Linked DNA regions of Homo sapiens: all the other regions are linked to region 3. Evidence: promoter capture Hi-C in 16 types of primary human blood cells and fetal thymus (Javierre and others, 2016). All regions are on one chromosome and are shown on one strand. Each heading gives the region's core, a stretch centred on a gene start or on the middle of the fragment in contact. The rest is flanking DNA. Distances are from core to core; before and after follow the strand shown. Region 1 has its middle 36 kb from the start of SERPINB7. Region 2 has its middle 54 kb from the start of SERPINB7. Region 3 holds the start of SERPINB13 (serpin family B member 13).

Region 1 (3,620 bases), core at 725-3,224, 220 kb before region 3:
GTCTTCTTAGAATTTGGTTCCACAAGTCTTTTTTCCTTGCATTGTGAAGCGATTTAAAGTATTTGTACAACGGGGTAGAGCATGAGCTAGCTGACGCATACATTGTGAGACACACAGTTTCCCTGGGTCAAAACAATGGCCCAAAAGATGTAGAAGAATATTAATGAAACATCTAATGTCATGCATTCTATACAACAAATCAAATGTTGTTTTATAATTATAAAATATATTAGGTGTTAAAAATTAAATGTGATACATACACACACAGAGACACACACATATTACATTATATACACCCTCTGACTATGACAATAAATTACTGGTGTTTAAAAGCCAGAGAGGAAGCACTTTGTCTTGGGAACTGGTAACAAATTGCTTTCCCTGAAATCTTTGTTGCATAAGGGTTTCAAACATATCTCACAACAAATGTAGGCAGGATTCCCACTTAAAGCAAACTACAAATCAGCTGCAGCCCCAACTCAGAGACCAATACTGTGTCTTCAAATATTAGAACTAAAGGCCTTAGAAAGCATTTCTTCAGGGATTTGGGATTCCAACTAAGAAATTCCAACAGTGATCCAGAATACATATTCAAGTGTTTTACAAAAAAACTTCTGCTAACTACTACTACTAATGCATTCTGATATTTCCTTTTCTACTGTATTATTTTATATTTTTAAAACACTGGTGGCAATTCTCTAAATTGTTTTTACAACCTACAGATAGGTTCCATCCCAACATTACAAAACACTGATATGGCCCAATTACCTCATGTTTTTTCGCTTATTATTATTATTTATTTATTTAAAGATGGTATCTTGCTCTGTCACCCAGGCTGGAGTACAGTGGCATAATCATAGCTCACTGCAGCCTTGAACTCCTGAAAGCAATCCTCCCTCCTCAGCCTCCTGTGTAGCTGGGACTACAGACATATGCCACCATACTCAGAGCACTTTTCAAAATGTTTTTTTTTTTTTTGTCAAGATGAGGTCTCTCTATGTTGCCCAGGCTAGTCTCCAACTCCTGGCCTCAAGCAATCCTCCTGCTTGGCCTCCCAAAGTGCTGGGATTATAAGCATGAGACACCATGAACAACTTCATTTTTCAAAAGAAGAATTAAGCACTAGGTAAGTCCTTTAACATAGTGCATGGATAGAAAGGATGGCCTGGTGTGGTGGCTCACATCTGTAATCCCAGCATTTTGGGAGTGGATGGATCAACTGAGGTCAGGAGTTCAAGACTAGCCTGGCCAGCATGGTGAAACCCCATCTCTAATAAAAATATAAAAATTAGCCAGGTGTGGTGGCACATGCCTGTAATCCCAGCTGAGGTAGGAGAATCACTTGAACCAGAGAGGCAGAGGTTGCAGTGAGCCGAGCTTGTGCCACTGCACTCCAGCCTGGATGACAGAGCAAGACTCTGTCTTAATAAAAAACCAAAAAAAGAAAAAAAGAAAAAAAAAGATTAGTCTTCTCAAATTGTTCAGTGCATAGCAGTTAACTTCTATAAGGGATAATTTTGTGTGTTTGTGTCCAATTGACCAACAGAAGATCCTATCTGTATGTTGATATTAGGCATCTTGATTGAGTTGTTTCATTTCATCTGTATTCCTTAAGAAGTTTTGTCTTTCATTTGACCCCTGTAAATTAAACAACTATATCCTGAACATATTTTTCTCTAAAATTAAAGATACATATTTTTGACTTTCTCATAAAGAATATCCCCAACAAATTATTAGCTAACACTAATTGGGTGTAATTAAAATCAAAGCCAGGCACTCATATTAACTCCTTTTAATCAAATTGCGCATGTATAAACATATACAGAAAGAAAAGCTTCTACTTTTTAAAAGGGAATCCAAACTATGGACATCTACAGAGGAAGAAGAGGTTAATTAATGGAAGAAAAAGATTCATGGAAATAAAAAGTAAAGAGAAAAGGCAAGATTTAGATATTTGTATTTTCATAAAATGAGCCTGATTTGTATAAATAATGTAAAAATAGGCACAAAGTATAGTTACAAAGGAAACTAACCCAATAGTTTCCTTTATAAAACTTTATGTAACTTGATAGTAAATATTACAAAATTATTGTACACACAAGAGTAAAAGCTTAAGTTATGGTTTTCAGAAAACAGAAATGACAAATGCCTTCCCTCTCAAACAATTAAGCACTGTTTGGCTTTACCCTAAGGAGTGTGAAAAGAAATGGCACAGAAGCCAGTAGAAAAATGCCTAATGGTTCGCTTGTTTCTGAAATTTTCAAAAGGGGAAGGGAAAAAAAAGGAAACAAACTAATCATTTACGACGTTAGTGAGAGACATCCAGGATGCATGGTCTATATTCTCAAGAAGACCTAGCTCTTTCAGAGAGCCAACTCACCTCACTGAAACACTCCAAATACCAGTACCCACTTCTAGCAAAGGAGCCATTTAAAACAGAGACAGGAGGCATGGGATCACTCGTTGAGGAGCTAAGGACTTGTGTGGAAACACTTGAGTAAGAAAAGGGGACAGTATTCATCTTGCTCTGGAGAGAGATGAACTATAAAACAACTATTAAAATCGTCTCTAGGCTCAAAGAAACACACCTTGAATCAGTCCAGCAGTTTGAAGAACCTGACTTCTCTCATCTACAGTCTTAAGGAGGATTTGGATTCAAGGACAAAGAGGGAAAAAAAAGGAATTCATAATGAAAGAATAAATGCTATCAACTTCTCAAAGACCCTGATGCCTCTAGAGACACTGTTCTCTGATAGACCCAAGGAACAGATACTTTTTAAAAGGTTAATATTCACTAAATGTCTAGTCACAGAACCAGAGGTTATTTGCAAAGAGGTGGCTGGGTGTGGTCAATGACATCTATGGTATTATCTTTAATGAAACATTTACCGGTTTCTCTTGCCTATAAAGTCTATTGTCTATAAAGACTCTAATTAATAGTTACGAGTGAGGTGGTGCATCCCTGCCTATTGTGCAGGATGTTTAAAGGCACAGATCATCCTAGAGCCCTAGTCCCATAGAAAGTGCATCTATCTAGTGGTCCATGGCTCTTACACTTCACTTTCTTTGTGCTACGATGGATGGTTCCCATCCGGTATGCCCTAATTTAGGTATAAGTGACAGGGATTTGTAACCTAGGGAATCTATGAATGGGATTCAGGAGCTCTTTGAACTTCTTAAAATTATATACCTAAATTCTTTCGTGTGCATTTTTGGATACCCCTAAATCTGATTTTCAAAAGGAGTGCTTAGTTCAAAAGTAAAGAACCGTTACAATAACAGCTCCAGTGGCCTTACAGGGATGCCCCTGCCATCCAGCTTCTCCCCTTCTTCTGTCTTCCCCTCCCCTCTGCTCTGGCTGGTGATGTTACAGTTGTTTAAAGATTGTGAAGTTGAATCTTGAGAAGTCCTCCCCTTTTACTGCCACATTCATCCAGTCGTTCACAGAGTCCTGACCAGTCAGGCTGCCTCCCAAATCTGTCACCTTCATTCACTATGCGCATTCCCAAGACCCATCTTCTAGGTTAGGCCACCATCGCTTCTCACCTGGACCACTGTCCATTTCTCCCTGTCAAGTCTCGTAACACTCTAGCCCCATGCCCACAAATCAGCAAACACAA
Region 2 (3,609 bases), core at 338-2,837, 240 kb before region 3:
ACAGTGAAATAATAAAGCCAATCTCTTTCTTTTGCTATTTAGGACATAGAAAATTTATGTTTATTTTCATCCTCCAAAATTGCCTACAGTTGGTGGCAAAAGAAAACCATCCATCCGTCTTTAGAAATACCTACGATTGAACGTTATTTTGATGACATAAAGAGGGGAGGAACCTAAACAAAGCTGCTACTAAAGTCCAAAGTATTCAAGTTCCCCAATATATTAATTTCATTCAGGTGTACTTTTTTGACTTCCAGATGCAGTTAATTCACTTCAAAGGGCTGGGAAATACCCACACCATAAGATCTTACCAGGATAACCATTTTTAAAGGACAAATAGGTCCTTTCAAGAGCATAATTTAGAAGTCTCTCCAGCTCGAGTAAAATCTGACTAATCTTAACTAGTCAGCAGCATTGAGCTGATTCTGATAATTTCTGGAGTTACAAAATAGCTAAGAATGTGACAAAGCACTAGGTGAGCTCTCATAATTGGACTACTTTAAGGAAATTTTGTTATGACCATAATGATACTTTATGTTTTTATCTTTGAAATGCTAGTTAACAGGTATATACACCTGCATTGTGTATATAAGCCAAATGGATGAGATTTTTCTGTGAAATAAAATATTCTGTTTTGTTAGCTGCTTTCTCTAGCAAATCTATTTGCTGTGGGGTATGCTTACCCCTTTGAGCATCTCTTTATGAATCCTGCTAAAATAGCCCATTTTCTACATACTGTGATTCCCCAACCGGGCTGATCCTTGGAAGGACCTAAGGGGCTCTTTGAAAATATGTATACTCAAGTTCATCATGCAAATCAGAGTCCCCAGGAAGGTGGCCCTAGAATCTGTATTTTCAAAAATCACAGCCATAACATCTATATAATTTATTGTTCATTTTATAACCTCAAAATGTGAATGTGATGGTAATATTCTTTGTAAGGGCATTACTACATACTTCCAGATATGACTAATGTGTTTGGCTAGAGGTTTATGTTTCTCCTTAATTTACTACTTATTTTATATGAAAAGTATTTATTCAGAAATAGAAAGTCTATTCTTACAGTTGACAAGAACAAATTTTAAATTTACTTGTAATTTCAAGCATTCCTTGGTGGGCTGGAATAAATGCATTTGATAGCACAGTGGCTTAGTTATTATATACAGATCAATTCTTTCTTGTTAAATAACATGTCTTATTTTGGTTGTGGCCTGATATTTGGGACATTTTTGACACTTAGAAAAGTTGGGAAGGCTGAGGGTGCTAAGTAGAAGGGCAGTAAGCCTAGAACCTTCCACCTTGACTGTGCATTTTGTTCACCAGTTCAGCTTGGCTTTGTAGGGAGATCAAACTCATTTTAGAAGTGACCTGCCTGGTGCAGCAAACCACCATGGCACATGTATACCTAGGTAGCAAACCTGCACATTCTGCACATGTATCCCAGAACTTAAAGTATAATTTTAAAAGAAGTGATTTGCCTGTTAGTTCCTCAGTTGTCTCTTGCTGTTATTTTCTATTGCCTGACCTTATTTCCAGTTAGCAAGAGGTAAGTGGCTTGATAATAGTTTAAGTGGTCTTAACCAAGACTTATTTTAAATACTTTCAAAGTCTATATTTCATAGCATTTTTCAATTGTACAACTGCATTGCTAAAATAGAATTTCTATTTTTATACAGGGTAAAAAACAGTGGAAAATTTTAAAGAAAGGTTCAACAAAAAAATAAATATTTTATAAATCAAAATCTGCTTTTTATTGCAAATGTAGCTAGGATAGCCACTTGGAAATTAATTTGCTTCCCTAAGGCCAGAAATAATTTAGCAGTTCTTAAGGACAAAAATTTTGAGGATTACTTTTAAGAGATAAACAAATTAAGCCATGAGACTACATGAGACCACCTCATCCAACGTGAAAGCCATTGCTTTTGTTTGGTCTTTCTGAAGTGCATTTTTCTGGTTCTCTCTGAAGGAGATGGCATTAACCAACACCAGCTGATTGGGAGATATGAGGCTGTGGGGTGATAAGAGATCCTAGATTTCACCCGTGGGAAGTGAAACAAAGCAAGACCATACTTAATCAACAATTGAATATGAATTATTTTCACTGGTTTTGTTTTGACTTTAGATCTATTTTTAACTGGCATATATAATTAACACCAGATATCTTCATATGAACCAAAAACAAGACTTTTGAGCAAATATGTAAAGCATTCCCAATTATATAATGGACAAGGAATGTGGAAGATGCAGAAGAAAAGAAAGTGAGTGTATAGCCTATTTATCTATTTTATAGAAACATGCAAAATTGTGGATGAAATTTTCTTGTCATACTGTTAATAAATGTTATACTGTTAATGTGTCTTTGTTTTTCTACCTTCAGTAAAATCCTTGACTAATAATAATGACATGGAGCAAAAACTCAAATGTAAAATAAAAGACAAAATCTTCTGAGAAAATCTAGCATATTTTCTTACATGTACATTTGCATGTACCCTATGACCCAGCAATTCCACTAGTAGATATTTATTTAACAGGAGTGAAAGAATATGTACTCAAAAAGCCTTTTACAGGAATATTCACAGCAGCATTATTCATAATAGCTAAAGAAATACCTGAGACTGGGTAATTTATAAAGAAAAGAGATTAATTGGCTTACAGTTCTGAAGGCTGTACAGGAAGCACAGTGGCTTCTGCTTCTAGGGAGGCCTCAGGAATCTTCCAGTCATGGCAGAAGACAAAGAGGGAGTGAGGCGTCTCACATGGCAGGAGCAGAAGCAAGAGAGAGAGATGGGGGAGGTTCTACTCACTTTTAAATGATCAGATTTCATGAGAACTCACTATCGTGAGAATAGCACCAAGGAGATAGTGCTAAACCATTCATGAGAAACTGCCTCCATGATCCAATCACCTCCCCCCAGGCTGCACCTCCAACGCTGGGGATTACAATTCTACGTGACATTTGGTGGAGACACAGATCAAAACCATATCATAAACTCTGAAAAATTCATGCTTCAGCTGGGTCTGCCTAAAGTATGATTGAAGTTGTTACAAGCTAGCAACTGAAAGTTAGAATCCTAAACTCTTTTGTATTTTATATGAAACAAAATGCATGTATAAAATATATTTTATATTCTATATTAGCATGTATTTATCTATCTGTAATATCTTTTTTATTTTCCCATAGTTTTGCGTGCATTTATCTATCTGTAATATCTTTTTTATTTTGCCACAGTTTTGATAGCACAGACAATTCTAGAGTAGATTAAATAAAGACAGAAAGAAAAGGTTTCGACTTTATTTATGGAAACATGTTTTATTCTAACTTACCAAGAGAAGTGGATGAGCTGCTTCTGCAAAAATTCCACTTGCCATGTGGGCTTGATTGCAGCTGGACTTACTGATTTCAGAGAGGAAAGCTTGAATACGTGAATAGACTCTTCTATCTTGATCACATAAGATAGTGTTAGAAAATACTTGAAAATGGGAATTGTGGTATCTGGTACTTTAGTATTAACTGAAGTTGACAAAAAAGGAACCAAATACTATTAATTCCACTATTTGTACATATTTATTTTATATGAAAAGTATTTATTCAGAAATAGAAACTCTAAT
Region 3 (3,466 bases), core at 259-2,758:
CCCCTGACTGCGCCCAACCTCCTCCAACTGGGAAGCGGTGGCTCCTCGGGTCCCCAGGAGGACCATGCCAATTGCAGTCAAGATGCCCACAGGGGAAAAGAAGATGTTGCCATCATTTGTTTTCTTCAGCTCTTTGAAAAGATCAAACCCAAGTCGAGTGCTGACGGCGCCAAGTGAATCCATGATGATTTTAGCGAGACCTAGAATAGCAAGAACAACAATCAAAACTGAACATTTGAATTACTCTGTGTCAGGGGAATCCTTTCTGCTTCTATTCCTCTTCTTGCATCGATCCGGAATACAGGGATTTCCACCCTTTTGGTGAAAGGTCGCTGCTGCCTGCTTCTCACGTCCTCTCTTGGCCTTCTCTTGCTGGGAGACATCCATCAATCTACTGGAGTCTTCCGTCATCCGGTGGTGCTCAGTTCTTATTTCCCCGCGGAGCAGGGTTAATGTTTTAATGGCTTTATTCTCTTGCTCTCTGTCTGACCCTGCCTGTCTCTGCCTCTCCACAGCCTCCTCTTCATGGAAGCTTCCCCAGGTAGACCCAGCCCTTGTCCAGGCGACACCAGTTTGTCCAGATGTGGGGCCCATGATAAGGCAGGGGGGTAGGCACAAGAATCTCCACGGGCCTCAAGTTCAAACAGTGCTCTCAGATCCAACCTTAGCAATAATTAAGCCGAGACTTGAATCCTTATCTGATACTATTTCTCAATTGATTCAAAATTCAGCCCAGAGAGTGACAGGATTGATTAAATCTCTTAAACCCCTTTCCCTAACTGCATACAAACTTGACTCTGGGCTGAATTTTTCTGAAGCAGAAACCACATATCTCTGGTCATGAATTATTAGGTGGAGATGAAAGGGTTTTCTTTTTTATACTTTTCTGTATTGTTTTAGGCTTGTACATGAGCTTGCATTACTTTTGTCATTTCACAAAAATAGTTTTTAAAGAGCAATTAATATTTGCCAAAAATAAATAGGTAGAACTGTTTTTATGTTTGCTTCATTACCAACTACTTTAAAACTAGTAAGTAAAGGCTTTAGGAGGAATCCTAAAACAAGAATAAGATTAATGAAAAATAAAGTTTTTTAAAGCCCACATACTTTGGGGCCTTTTGCCCTCAAGGGCTCATCCCCGCTAAGGCATCCCACATCTGATATCAAAGCTTTCATTTCAACCTCAGGTTTCCTTGCAGAGATCCTTTACAGGTTAACTCAGAAATAAAATGGATTAATTTACTGTCAAAGAAGATACATTGTCATGGCCATGTTGGAACTGAATTAAATAAAACTACCTCCAGAAAGTCTATGCAAAATAAAAGTAATTCTTTCAAACAACAAACATCATTGTTCTCAAAATACAGAGGTCTTAAATTGGAGCCAAAATAAGAACTTACCTCGGGTTTTTGGAGAGACGGTGGTGGCTGGGCAACGAACTAGGAAGCATAAGTCAATTAAGTAGCTGGGATCCTTAATTTATAGTTCTCCACATCTGCTTCAGCAGTGGTTTTCCACCTTGCGTGCACCTTAAAATCTCCTTGGAACTTTAAAAAAAATCTATGCCCAAGCCCCACCCCAGACCAACTGAGTCAGCATCTCTCGAGTGGAAACCAGGCATCAGAATTTTTATCACCGCAGGTGATTACAATGTACAGCCAACGCTGGGAACCAAAGGTGTATAGCCTGATGAACACATACATTAAATGCATACTTTACTTACCACAGATGGACAGAGCTGTGTCCTGACAAGTCATTCTCTGTAACAGAGTTATTTTTGCATTTGCATTATTTAGGAGTGCCAAATGCCAGGAAGAAAATGAAAGAAAACTATCTTGCTACAAAGGAACAAGAAAAAAGAACAAGAAAAGTTTGGGTAGGCAGCCACACACAAGCGAGCATGCGCACACACACACACGCACACACACATACACACACACACCTATTATTCTCAAGTATTCCATCCATTAATTGTAAAATATCTCATTTTAATTCATTCAATAAACATTTATCAAGTCTATTATGTACCAGGTACTGTGTCTAATGCCAATAATTCATAAGCACTCAATATCCTCACTGATTTCAGGAAAACAACACTACCAAAAAAACTCAATAGGAAATTACACCCCCAGATTCCAGTTTTTCCTGCCAACCCTGGAGCATTTCTACTGGCCCTACCAGTTCATTAAAAGAAACTGTGCTTGGATTAGTCTTAGCTTTAATCTTCAGTAAAGGGCGTGGAGATTTGCCATCGTTGCTGGGCAGCAGCTCCTAGAAGGGTGTCTTAGCTCTTCCTTCTGCCTAGAGGAACACCTCCCTAGATACGCAGGCTCGAAGGGCATATGGGTCATGTGTGTTCCAATCTCCATACTCACAATTTACTTTTTTCAAAATATTTTGATTGCTGCTCTTTAAGCAAACTCAAAGCCACATTTAGTTGATTTGCTTTTTAATAGGCACTGAGAATCTTGCAAATTGAGTAAGGTTTAGAAAGAATTAACACTTAGTGAACCCTGGATGCCAGTGAAATGGAAATGTTAGTTTTTTAAAATGGCATAAAATCTCTGAGTCGGCCATAATGCTTTATGTTTTAATATCCCTATCCATTTATATCTTCTTATTTCTTTCTCTGTGGCCCCTAGACTTCCTGTTCTATTGCCCAGCCATTTCCACAGGCCTTCTGCTTTTTGCTAAAGCTTTTGCTCTACCACCTGCTTTCACCGGGAAACCTGGCATGTCCTGAGGACTACTACATCCCATAGTCTTTTCTGGGAACGGCCACTCATATCTTGGGAAAGCAAAGTCACCATTCCTATTCTCCCTCGCACTCCCTCTTCTTCCAAGTCTTTCTTCCTTCAGTCACCTTCAATGCTCCCCTTTGGAAACTTAGACCATCACGCTGTGCTGCTCTGTCCCCAACCACAGGTCCCTCCGTGACTCTGCATATGGTCTTCCTGTCCACCCCAGCTGCTACCGCCACCCTGTACCACTTCACCATTCCTGTTGCCAGCGCCTCTCACTTCTCGGACCTTCACCTTCCCTCTTTTATAGTGGCCCACTCACACCAGGAACTGCTCTTGTTTAACACTCAAGCACCTCCATCTGGTGACAGATTCTCATCCTTATTCTCTCTAAACCTAATTTTCAACGCCTTCCCAACCTCTTATCACAGGACTCCTCCCTGTTCTGTTTTATCCATCTCTTCTTTCTAGGATCAAAACTGCCCCAGAGGTGGAATATATGTTGATGATTAAGAACCATTTAAAAAATGATTTCTATGCTAACAAGTGAGGAGAAGAAAGTTATCCCCTGAAGCAGAGTATTGATAGGTTCCCAACCCTGTTCCATAGCTCATAGTTTTGTTCCAACTTCTGTGTGTCTGTTACTGATACTGACTTGTAATATTTTTCTTCTCCAAGCATGTAATCTCGTAGTGGATGCTGCCGATGTTCCCACCAGATTTCCT

Evidence for each region. Contacts are between HindIII fragments. The CHiCAGO score rates a contact against its expected background, and 5 or more counts as called.
Region 1: a fragment that was not itself captured here is called in contact with the fragment with the promoter of SERPINB13 in region 3 in 2 of 17 cell types (megakaryocytes and endothelial precursors); the score reaches 7.1 in megakaryocytes.
Region 2: a fragment that was not itself captured here is called in contact with the fragment with the promoter of SERPINB13 in region 3 in 7 of 17 cell types (megakaryocytes, M2 macrophages, M1 macrophages and 4 more); the score reaches 8.5 in megakaryocytes.

What each region holds. Positions count from the first base shown.
Region 1 is chr18:63,809,653-63,813,272 of GRCh38, reverse strand. No RefSeq gene overlaps it. Among named protein-coding and RNA genes, the nearest start is that of SERPINB7, 36 kb to the right of the region's middle. The HindIII fragment of the contact is 276 bases long and covers 1,837-2,112 here.
Region 2 is chr18:63,827,442-63,831,050 of GRCh38, reverse strand. No RefSeq gene overlaps it. Among named protein-coding and RNA genes, the nearest start is that of SERPINB7, 54 kb to the right of the region's middle. The HindIII fragment of the contact is 3,657 bases long and covers 1-3,415 here.
Region 3 is chr18:63,585,385-63,588,850 of GRCh38, reverse strand. SERPINB13 (serpin family B member 13) reads right to left here and starts at 1,508. Exons shown (of 8, transcript NM_012397.4): 1 at 1,401-1,508; 2 at 19-200. The coding sequence starts at 183. RefSeq lists an enhancer at 1-222. The HindIII fragment of the contact is 1,527 bases long and covers 1,172-2,698 here.